Regions from separate parts of the Homo sapiens genome. Here regions 1, 2 and 3 are each linked to region 4. The links are contacts of gene promoters, found by promoter capture Hi-C in blood cells and fetal thymus (Javierre and others, 2016). All regions are on one chromosome and are shown on one strand. Each heading gives the region's core, a stretch centred on a gene start or on the middle of the fragment in contact. The rest is flanking DNA. Distances are from core to core; before and after follow the strand shown.

Region 1 (2,700 bases), core at 178-2,677, 580 kb after region 4:
AGCTTCCAGAAACTTCCAGGAATGCTGCAGAGTGGTAGGCGTGGATATGGGCCCTGCTGTCCCTGCTGGGGGCATGTGTGGGCACCACAGGCGAAATCAGCCAAAGACAAGACTAAACTCTCTTGGTGTCCTCTTCTCTCAAGCAAAACACTCCATATGTGCTTTTGCAGTGGTTTTTATGGCTCACACCTGTAATCCCAGAATTTTGGGAGGCTGATGCAGGAAGATCATTTGAGCCCAGGAGTTCAAAACCAGCCTGGCCAATTTCTTTCTTTTTTCTTTTTCTTCTCCTTTCTTCCTTTTTTTTTTTTTTTTTTTTTTTTTTTGAGGCAGAGTCTCACTCTGTTGCCCAGGCTGGAGTACAGTGATGCCATCTCGACTCACTGCAACCTCCACCCACCCGGCTCAAGCAATTCTCCTGCCTTAGCCTCCCGAGTAGCCGGGATTACAGGCATGCACCACCACACCTAGCTAATTTTTTATTTTTAGTAGAGACGGGGTTTCGCCATGTTAGCAAGGCAAGTGAACCACCCGCCTTGGCCTCCCAAAGTGTTGGAATTACAGGCCTGAGCCACCATGTCTGGCCAAACGTTCCTTTTTCAAACCTATACTGTCGCCAGTAAAGTTTTCTTACCAACCTGCGAGTGGACCACTTTCCAACTCTGGGGCTCCAGCACTCACCCCGCAGTCAATGTGTTGTACGTCAGCAGCCATTCTAACAGGTATGTAGTGGCATCAGTTTTTTTTGTTTGTTTGAGACAGGGTCTCACTCTGTCACTCAGGCTGGAGTGCAGTGGCGAGATCTCGGCTCACTGCAACCTCCACCTCCTGGGTTCAAGCGATTCTCATGCCTCAGCCTCCCCAGTAGCTGGGACCACAGGCATCTGCCACCACATCTGGCTAATTTTTTTTTTGTATTTTTAGTAGAGACAGGGTTTCACCATGTTGTCCATGGCTGGTCTTGAACTCCCGATCTCAAGTGATCCACCCACCTCAGCCTCCCAAAGTGCTGGGATTACAGGTGTGAGCCACCGCGCCCAGTCAGCTGGGGCAATTTCTTTTGTTATTTTAAATAAACACCAGCTTTCAGCCGGGCACGGTGGCGGGCGCCTGTAGTCCCAGCTACTCGGGAGGCTGAGGCAGGAGAATGGTGTGAACCCGGGAGGCAGAGCTTGCAGTGAGCTGAGATCGCGCCACTGCACTCCAGTCTGGGCGACAGAGTGAGACTCCATCTCAAAAAAATAAAAATAAATAAAAAATAAACAAACACCGGCTTTCACACCTAACTATGATTTTGTAACTTGTATTACTTTTCTCAATGAGGGCCCTCCAAAAGCTTCAAGGGCTGCAGAATCTGAACCCTCCAGCCCTGCCTGGAACCTCTTCCTTGGCCCATCCAGGCAGGTGCCTGAGTTTGCTGGTGACTTGGAAACTCCTCAGCCCCCTGCCAAACACCTGGAAAGGAGGCTTTGCTCTCTAAGACAATGGGCCCCACTGTCACCAGCGAAGTCAAGCTTAGGCTTAGAAACTTGTGAACGTGTAGCACCCATTCAGGAAGGAGGTCCAGGCCAAGGGCACAGACGCCACTGCAGTAACCAAGAAGCCATGGGCATCACTCCACTGACACTCTCGACTGCTGGGACCCGTGTGGTCACCGGGCAGGGAGCTTCTCTCAGCTGCCTGGCCCCAGATCTCTGCCCTCCCTGCTGTGCCTGCAAGGAGCCGGGCTCAGGAGGGACTTTGGGACAGGCCGGCAAGCAGGTGGGGTTCCCAGTTTGACATAGGAAGTCTTCAAGTTTCTCGGGTGTACAGAACGTGGCCACTGATGCCAGCTTGGGCTTGGGGTTATCAGCCGTGTTTGGATTCGCTATGCCCCTTGACCTGTGATAGCTTCAATGAACTCAGAGAAGGGATGGGTCAAGGGGCGTCCCCACTGGCATCACCTCTGCCCTCCCTGAACTCTGGCAGGGCTCCAGGTGTGCAGCGTTCCACCCACAGGTCACTGTTTACCAGCAGGCGCAGAAGCCGTTCCAACAGCGACAATCAAACAGCTTTACTAGGGCAAAGCCACCACTCCCCTCTCACCTCCCCAGGGAAGGCCAGAGCCCACGTCAGCAGTGTGGAGGGAGTAAATCATTGACGCCTGACAGTCTGGCTGCTCCAACCTCACGAGGGGTTGGGGGAGCCCATTCCTGCAGGTTCCTGGAAGTGGATGCCCCACATGGGTCAGCTAGCAACAGCTGGGGGTGACCTCGCAGCCACACGAGGACGGGCTGCTGAGCAGAAGCCAGGACCCCAGTGCACAGAGCACCAAGGGATCTCAGAAGGCTGCTTCAGGTCTGAAGACTGACGCCCCACACCCAATTTCCAGCCTCCAAGTCTCTTGTTTCCCACCCAGACACAGGACCTCACAGCCTCTTTCAGAAATGCGGTGCACGCGTGTGAGTGCACCCACAGGCTGCTGCGGCGAGCACGCGGGGGCCAAGCGAGACGGGTGTGTGGTGGGGTTACAGAGTCCACCTGCCCCTGCAGCTCGGACCACTCAAGAACTACATGTTGAGCTCAACGAAACTGCAGTTGGCCACACTCCAAGCCTGAAGGGGTAGCGTCAGGGGCGTCGGACGAGGCCCCACACAGAGTCCCCAGGTCCTGTCCCCACTCGGGGGCAGCTCTGGCAGGCTCCGGCCCTGCTGGGCTCCC
Region 2 (2,890 bases), core at 352-2,851, 580 kb before region 4:
CCTCCAGAGTCAGGATGTCTGACTGGGCAGCGCCGTTGGCAAACTCCTCTAGGGTCATGGTTGGAATTCGGACCAGATAGAGGGCTCGCCCCAGAACATGCCTCTTGTTTCGTGGGGTGATTGGCAGCCCCTGCCTCTTGCACTCCGCCTCGGCCCAGTTCAGGACGGCCTCGAAGACCACCGCCTCTTTGGTGTTGAGGGCCTCCCGAGTGACAATGATCTCCAGCGTCTGCCGGTCTATCTCACAGAAGCCTTCGGACCGTAGGGCCATCTCGGCCTGTGCGTCAATGACCTCCCAGCAGCGCTGCGTCAGCTCGGGCTCCTCAAACAGCCGGCTCTGGGACAGCAGGACGCAGGCGTTCTTGGCTTCCAAACTTGTCTCCAGAAAGTTGACACAGGCTTTTGCCAATGCTGGGACGATGTACTTCTTAGCAGCGTACAGAGTGGCCAGCACCGTGTCGGCTTCCAGATCGATCTCATCACTGTACATGTACCTAGGCGAGGCAGGGCCCGCGTCAGGGGCTGGCTCCCAAGCACCCATCGCGGGGCTGGGCCTGGGAGAGGAGTCCATCAGCTCCTGTGTGCTTCCCTTCAGAAGCCTCCGGAGGCCGCCTAAAACGGACCCACCCGTCCCTCCCCAGTAGAGTGGACTTACTTTAAGAGGATCAGAAAGGCTGCGGGCTCCACGTCTGGAATGTGAATTTCAGATTTGACTTCCGCCAGGTCTCCGTAGAACATGGCATAGAAGACGGAGCTGCCGACAGCCAAGACGTACTGGGAGGAGAAAGCGCCGCCGTGAGCCTGGCTCTCCCGCAGGCTGCGTGTCAGCCACACGGCGGACGGGGCGGACGGGGCACGCGTTCCGAGAGGGGCCGCCGCTACCCACCTTGTGGGCGGGCACCGTCCTGGTCGCCCCCGGGGGCCCCACGACGAAGTGCACGTCGGCCATGAGCTCGTTGTTGAACATGAGCGCGTTCCTGCAAAGGTAGAGGCACGGGCTGGGGGCGTGGGCGCGCGCGGGCGCGGGGGCCGCGGGGCACGGGCTCACCTCTCGCGCAGCGTGGGGCGGCAGCACCGCCAGCCGGGGCTCTCCTGGTGGTTGTTGCCGAGTGTGGGCGGCGCGGGCGCGGGCGGCGGCGGCGCTGGCGCGGGGGCGCTGGGCGGGCTGCGCGGCCCGGCCTTCCTGCCCACGGCGGCGCCGGCGTTGCTGTTGGCTAGGTCCGCGGCCGCGGCGCTGGCGGGAGCGTAGAGTTCCGCCGCCATCTTCGCGGGCGGGGCGGCGGGGGCAGCCTCGGCGCCTGTGGACGCCGCGCCCCGCGCCCTCGCGCCGCGCCGGGGCCTCGGGAGCGGCTCTGCAAGCAAAAGCAAGGAGGTCAGGCACTGAGCGACGCGGCCGTGCAGGCAGGCTAGGGGCAGCAGCATGGGCGGCGGCGGCGCTGTGACCCGCGGGGCTGCCACCCGCTCCCCTGCCACCCCCGCCCCTGCGACCCTGCCCGAGCCCAGCCTAGCGCAGCCCGGCCAGGCCCGGCCGCGGGGGGCGCCGTCCCGCCCGCCCGCCCGCCCGAGCCCGTACCCGCCGCGGCGCCGGTGCGTCACGCTGCGTCAGGGCCGCGCCCCGCGCGACGTCGCTGCCTCGCGGCCCCGCCCCCAGGCCCGACATCCTCGAAGCTGCTCGAGCTTCTGCCCAGCAACCGGCGCGAGCCGCGCGCTGTGCAGAGGTAGCCGTGGAAGGCGGCTCCCGGCGCTGGCAGGCGGCCGCCCCCAGACCCGCAGTGCCATGCGCAGGTGCTTGCGCCCGTTCTTCAGTTAGCGATCTTTTGGTTAGGAACGCAGGTGGACCTGCTTGTTTGGCCATTTGCATTCCGGAGTCTGCCTCTGGCCGCGGCCTGTGGGATGGTCGTTGGGCTTCCTCGTTCGTTCAGATGCTTCGCGATTTAGCTTGCTACGGACGCCAGCAGCCAGCGCTTGCAGAGAGCGCGGTCCACTCTGCTCTGAGGGCTTTACAGGGGCAGGCGCTGCTATTTCCCGGCATTTTCCTCGAGGAAATAGGCACAGAGAGGTTAGTCGCGCGCTGAAGGTCACACAGCCGGCGGGTGGGCAAGTCAGGATCTGGCCCTGGGCCTGCAGCCCTGGAGCTTGGGCCCCAGGGCGCGCCCTGCCTCTGTGGCTCTGCCTGTGGATCGCAGTCGCAGGCTCGCTCCTTGTGGGGCCTCTAGCCTCCCGGCCTGGGGCTAATCCTGGGAGGTGCGTGGCATGGGGCACTGGCTTTGCTGATGAGGAGACCAGACTTCAGAGGCCGTGTCACCTGGCCTGGGCCGCACAGCTGGTGCATGCCAAGCTCGCGTGCAGACGAAGCTCCAGAGGCCTGGCTGTCAGGAGGGTTCCTCCCCGAGGACACACACGCAACCTCCTGGACCGCCAGGCTTTAGACTTTTAAAACTTCCATATGCAGGAAACCCCACAGGACGCAGCCAGCATCTCGGGTCATGGGTGCACCTGTCACCGCAGTCCTGGGCTAAACAGTGAACAGGAGCTCTGTGTCTCTGTGGTCGTTACAGTTGTAGTGAATGTTCCCTGGGAGAGTCCTCTTCAGAAGATATTTGCGGTATTTTCAACAAAGGACTCTCCAGGATGGAGGAGCAACTACAAGTCAGGAAGGAAAAGGCTGACAACCCAGTTTTTTAAAAAACGGGCAAAGGACGTGAACAGACACCATGCAATGGCCCAGAGTGCACAAATCATCATTTCTCCCAGGAATGGGGTGCCCGAGCCCCCAGGCGGCTGAACTTGAGACTTGTCACGTAGTGTTGGTGGAATGCAGAGCAGCTGGAGATCACCTGCTGCAGGTGGGTGCGTAACTCCGCACGGCCAAGCCGTTTGGAAAGCTGTA
Region 3 (2,700 bases), core at 134-2,633, 740 kb after region 4:
TTGCCAAAACTTGGAAGCAGGCCGGGCGCAGTGGCTCACGCCTGTAATCCCAGCACTTTGGGAGGCTGAGGTGGGCAGATCACCTGAGGTCAGGAGTTCTAGACTAGCCTGGCCAACATGGTGAAACCCTGTCTCTATTAAAAATACAAAAATTAGCCAGGCGTGGTGGCATATGCCTGTAGCCTCAGCTACTCGGGAGGCTGAGGCAGGAGAATCGCTTGAACCTAGGAGGGGGAGATTGCAGTGAGGCGAGATGGCGCCACTCCACTCCAGCCTGGGTAACAAAGTGAGACTCCATCTCGGGGGGTGGGGGGAGAACTTGGAAGCAACCAAGCTCTCCTTCAGTAGGTGAATGGAGATAAACTGTGGTACATCCAGACAGTGGAATATTAATCAGTGCTAAAAGGAAAGAAGCTATCAAACCATGGAAAGGCATGGAGGAACCCCCAAATGCATACTAATACTAAGTGACAGAAACCCATCAAAAAGGCTACACATACTGTGTGATTCCAACTAGATGACAGTATGGAAAAGCAAAATTATGGAGACAGTAAAAAAATCAGTGGTTTCCACGTGGTGTAGGGAAAGGGAGGCAGGAACAGTGGGGCCGAGAAGATCTGTAGGTCAGTGAACTCTGTAATGCGTGACGTTAGGCGTTTGTCCAAACCCACAGAACGTCCAGTACGAGGCGTGAACCCTCCTGTAACGATGGCCTCCGGGTGACGAAGACGCAGCGATGCAGGTTCGCCGACTGTCACAAATACCCACACCTTACGCAGATGCTCACAGGGGAAACTCTGGGAGGGAAGGGGCCTATGGGACCTCTGCCCTCCGCTCCGTTATCCTGAAAACCTGAGTGCCTCAAAAACTAGTCTGTTAAACATTAAGAACTGAAAAAAAAAAAAAAAAAAAAACCTCTAGCTCAGCTTCCTTACAGGCACCGCTCTGGGCCGCGCGTCGGGTTGTGTAGTGACCACTCGCCCTGGACGGTCAGGGGTCCCTGGAGCCCCGCGAGAGGGCACGGGCTCGCGAGAAGGATCTGGATGGCCCGTGCCCTCGTCGCCAGGCCTCGCCCGGCCGCCCTCCAGCCGCCTCCGCCCCGCCCGCGTCCTACCTTTCGAACGCAGCGGCCGGCCGGGCCGGAGCTTGGGCCAGAGCCGGAGCCTGGGCCGCGGGACCAGCGCCGGGGGCCACGTCCTGGCGCTGCACCTCCTCCCTGGCCGCCCCTGCCGGGAAGGCGGGCGGCGCGCCCAGCAGCTCCACATTGGTCACCGTCTTGCCGATGGTGAACCAGTCGTTGATCTGCTCGATGGTGAGCTTCCGCAGCATCCTCAAGGCCCAGGCGTCGGCATCCCCCAACTGCCGGGTCTCCGCGGCGGGAACAGGCGACGGCGGAAGCGCACCCTGGAAGCCCCGCCCCCGCTCGAGGCCTTCCAATCAGAACGCGCCGCGCGCCCTTGTGGGCGGGCTCCGGCCCGGGCGCGTGCTGCCCGCGCTGCCTGGTCCTCGTGCCGCCGGCCCCGCCCCGCCGCGCTAGGCCTGCCGGGAGCCGCCGCCCCGAGCGAGCCCAGGGTGAGCCTTTCTAGGACCTCAGGGGAAGCTTGAGCGCCGCGGCTGGCCCGGGAGTCTGTTTCACGGGAGTTCCGTGGCAACCCCTGTGTGTACAAGAAAATGCCCTCCGGTCACTCCCTGGCCTCTCTATTTAGAGGCTGCTGCCTCGGAGGTTTGTGCGCTTTGAGCGGACCGGGACCCTACATACGTTTCTTGAGCACCTCAGGGTGAGGAGATGGAAGGCAAACCAGAGAAGGGATTTGCGTTCGTGGGTCAGACGTACCAGGACATCCTTGCACCTAATATGGGGGGAGAGGGGCAAGAAGAAGGTCAGGAAGGTCTCGGAGAAAGTAACGCCAGGCAGACCCCTGCAGGATACGGGGGAATGCGCCAGACGGAGGACCACCCAGGGTTATAGGGGAGGGCAGGCGGCCCTGATGGCTGAGGTGAGGATCTGGGAGAAGTTCTTTGCAGCCGGATCATAACTGAATTCATCTTCCTTCCTAAACCGGTGTCTCAGGCGGCGGTGTCAGACTCACAGCTGGACACAAACAGGTGCGGACAGGAGGTCCAGGCGATCACATGGACCAAAGATACAGGCTGAGGTGGTCCCGGCCGAGCTCTAGAAGAGTGAGGGTGGAGAACAGAGCCCTAGCAAACTCCCCAAAAGAAGGAGCCGCGGGAAGAAATCAACAAAGGATGCACGGGAAGGCAGCCACGTGTGCAAGGGAAGGGAGGGTCAGAAGAGAGACATGGCCACCTGCCTGGGGTGTGTCCCCCTCACTGGCCAGGGCAGGATCTATCTGGCCCATGTGGGCTCTCAGGAAAGAGCCATGTGAACAAATACAGAGACGGTATCGAGAGCATGGCTCTAATCAGCAGTGTAAAGCCCAAGCAGTGGCAAATAAGAGGGCGGTTTGAAAACACTGTAGACAGAAATCAGGCAGGTAGGTTGAGCTATTGGTGTCTCAAAAATTGAACCCATAATCATACTAAGCCAGGAGTTCTGGCTCCAAATCCTGGCATAATGAGCTCTAGACCTCATATTAGGACTCTGCCAAATACGACAGGTTCCCAAAAGTGCCTCAACACACTTTGCCAGGAAGAAATAACTTGCTTTTCTTTTTTCTTTTGAGGCAGGGTCTCACT
Region 4 (2,700 bases), core at 3-2,502:
CATTTTGGCCAGGCTGGTCTCGAACTCCTGACCTCAAATGATCCACCCACCTTGGCCTCCCAAAGTGCTGGGATTACAGGCATGAGTCACCGCGCCTGGCCTGAGATACAGTTTACCCAGAGTAAAATGCATAGAACTAAAGTGTATGAGTTTTGACAAATAAAGAGGTCCGTGGAGCCCTCACCCAGAACAAGACTGGGGGCACTGCACCACCTCAGAGGGTCCTGGCCTTCTGTAGTCTACAGTGTATTGTGGGTAACACAAGTTAATCAGAAACGTAAATTCTCAGCTGGCAGAGAGAAGCTGTGTATAAGCCTGGGCTCTCCGATTAGATCGTTCTCACCAGGGTGCTCTGCAGCCAGGGGGTGCCGGGGAAGATGCCCTGCAGGTGCCCTCTGCCCGGCCCTGGGGGAGGAGGGAGGCCCTGCTGCAGGGGAGCTGGGAGCCACTGTGGCCGCCATGGAGGCTGCCACTCTCCCAGCTCCAGTGTCACCTCGGCGGGTGGGGGCTGGTTGTGGGGACAAAAGGCCTTTGTACTCGGGACAGCCTCAGCCCTACTGTAGGGATGGGAGGAGAGAACGGCCACATTCCGAGGTTGGGGGAGGTCACTGGACACAAGGCCTTTCTTTCTGAGCTGCTAGTGCATGTCGGCCTGGCTGGGGACCCCGCTGGGGCCTCTGTGGCCGCTGAGGGCAATTCCAACCAGCTTCATGGGCAGTGGCTGGTGGGGCTGGGGGTGACTCCTGCTCTGGGGCTAGAGAGAGGGGCTCAGTCTCGGGAAGAGGGGTAGGGGCGGTGTGTGCGACTCAGCCACCCTCTGATGCTGAGGCCTGCCACCAGCCCGGTGCCAGCCCTCGGGGACGGTGCCACGCCAGGGCCTGCGGAGTGGTGGTGGAGCTCCCTGGTGGTGGAGGGTTGCCCACATCCTTCTCCTCTTCCTTTCCCTGGTCTACACCTCCCCAAGGTGTGAAAAAGCCCAGGCCCTCTCTACAGCCTGCAGGCAGCGCCATGCCCGGGGAGGGTGCAGTTTGAGGAGGGGAGGGGCCGCCTCGGGATGTTTCCATTCAGAACTGGGACCTGTGGGCCACCAGAGAACCTAAAAGCAAACATGTCTGGCCAGCGACGGGATTAACTCTCAGACTGCAAAATCAAAACACTTCCTGTTAGTGTGAGCTCACTCAGTTATTTAGGCGAAAGCACACTGCCTTCCTGAGCTGGGAGAGTTTGTCTCTCCCCGCCCTGGGGTCCCTCCTGGATCTTCCTGCCTTGACAGCCCCACAGAAAATGCTAAGAGCCCAGGAAGGTTGTGAAGGGTGTGTGTGTGTTTGTGTGTGTGTCTGTGTGCTGTGTGTGTCTGTGTGTGTTTGTGTGTGTCTGTGTGTTTGTGTGTGTGTATGTGTGTGTCTGTGTTTGTGTGTGTTGTCTGTGTCTGTGTGTCTGTGTGTCTGTGTGTCTGTGTGTCTGTGTGTGTGTCTTGTGTCTGTGTGTTTGTGTGTGTGTCTGTGTGTTTGTGTGTCTGTGTGTTTGTGTGTGTGTTTGCATCTGTGTGTTTGTGTGTCTGTGTGTGTGTGTGTTTGTGTTTGTGTGTCTGTGTGTGTTTGTGTGTCTGTGTGTGTTTGCATCTGTGTGTGTGTGTGGGTTTGTGTGTGTCTGTGTGTTTCTGTGTGTCTGTGTGTGTGTGTCTGTGTGTGTGTGTTTGCATCTGTGTGTTTGTGTGTGTGTGGGTTTGTGTGTGTCTGTGTGTTTGTGTGTGTCTGTGTGTGTGTCTGTGTTTGTGTGTGTTTCTGTGTGTCTGTGTGTTTGTGTCGGTGTGTGTCTCTGTGTGTGTTTGTGTGTGTATGTGTATTGGGAGGACAGTGGTCCCAGCTCCTCAGGGGCATCAGGCTCTGTAGCAGGGCCCACCGTCTCGGCAGGAGGGTGCAATGGCCTCACCCACACTGTCCAGGCAGTTCTCTTGGGACCCCTTTTAGCCAGCACAGGTGCCTTCTCCCTCGGCAGGAGGGTGCGATGGTCTCACCCACACGGTCCAGGCGGGTCTCTTGGGTCTCCTTTTCCAGCACAGGTGCCTTCTCCCTAGGTAAGACATTATCCATCATGGTGGTGTTTCAGATGGCAGCGCAGGGAGTGGAGATTTTGGGGCCGCAGTCTTCCCCAGCCCAAGGTGCCCCAGGGCCTGCCCTGGGATGCGGGTTCCTGCCAGAAGTGCCTTTTGCTGCGTGGAATCATGGGGAATGTGGGGTCCTCCCCAGTCAACCTGGGGAGCCCTAGCAGGGAGGTGAAGATGGGTTTAGGGGATCATAAAAAGCAAAAACCAAACCAGATCCCAGTAGAAATCTCCGGGGGAGTTGGGGTCATCTCGAACCAAGGGGAGGGAGGAGAGGGGCTGCAGGTGGGGTGGGGGGTAGTGAGAGGGGAAGAGGGTGAAGCTCTGCTCACAGGAGTCGCCCGTTGCCCAGGCTTTGTGTGCTGGGCACACAGATGCCAGCAGGTGGAAGCTGAGCATGGAGGAGGTTCTCATCAGCTCACCCGCCCTCCTCCAAGCCCCAGGCTGGCCTGGGCTACGTAGGGAGCCCTTGGGGTCAAAAGCACATCCAACCCCTATAACCTTCCCCAAGGGCGTGGACACCTGTAGGAAGGGAGGGAGATCAATTACCTTGGTTCAGATCACAGGTTTTTTTTTTTTTTTTTTCTAAAAATCAG

Evidence for each region. Contacts are between HindIII fragments. The CHiCAGO score rates a contact against its expected background, and 5 or more counts as called.
Region 1: a fragment that was not itself captured here is called in contact with the fragment with the promoter of LINC02280 in region 4 in 4 of 17 cell types (naive B cells, M0 macrophages, M1 macrophages and 1 more); the score reaches 7.1 in naive B cells.
Region 2: the fragment with the promoter of BTBD6 here is called in contact with the fragment with the promoter of LINC02280 in region 4 in 2 of 17 cell types (neutrophils and erythroblasts); the score reaches 9.8 in neutrophils.
Region 3: a contact is called between the fragment with the promoter of TDRD9 here and the fragment with the promoter of LINC02280 in region 4, in 4 of 17 cell types (M1 macrophages, naive CD8 T cells, erythroblasts and 1 more). The highest score is 7.9, in M1 macrophages.

What each region holds. Positions count from the first base shown.
Region 1 is chr14:104,087,574-104,090,273 of GRCh38, reverse strand. The region is part of intron 1 of ASPG (asparaginase); the gene reads right to left. Among named protein-coding and RNA genes, the nearest start is that of ASPG, 3.2 kb to the right of the region's middle. The HindIII fragment of the contact is 178 bases long and covers 1,339-1,516 here.
Region 2 is chr14:105,247,244-105,250,133 of GRCh38, reverse strand. It overlaps BTBD6 (BTB domain containing 6), which reads right to left and starts at 1,601. Exons shown (of 4, transcript NM_001387567.1): 1 at 1,049-1,601; 2 at 887-977; 3 at 656-774; 4 at 1-494. The coding sequence starts at 1,422. The region is part of intron 5 of BRF1 (BRF1 general transcription factor IIIB subunit); the gene reads left to right. RefSeq lists enhancers at 1-393, 1,185-1,975 and silencers at 1,000-1,049, 1,250-1,809. The HindIII fragment of the contact is 26,340 bases long and covers 1-2,890 here.
Region 3 is chr14:103,927,139-103,929,838 of GRCh38, reverse strand. TDRD9 (tudor domain containing 9) reads right to left here and starts at 1,383. Exons shown (of 36, transcript NM_153046.3): 1 at 1,115-1,383. The coding sequence starts at 1,329. The HindIII fragment of the contact is 2,314 bases long and covers 1-1,602 here.
Region 4 is chr14:104,664,110-104,666,809 of GRCh38, reverse strand. It overlaps LINC02280 (long intergenic non-protein coding RNA 2280), which reads left to right and starts at 1,252. Exons shown (of 2, transcript NR_135293.1): 1 at 1,252-2,077. RefSeq lists an enhancer at 560-1,322. The HindIII fragment of the contact is 24,946 bases long and covers 1-2,700 here.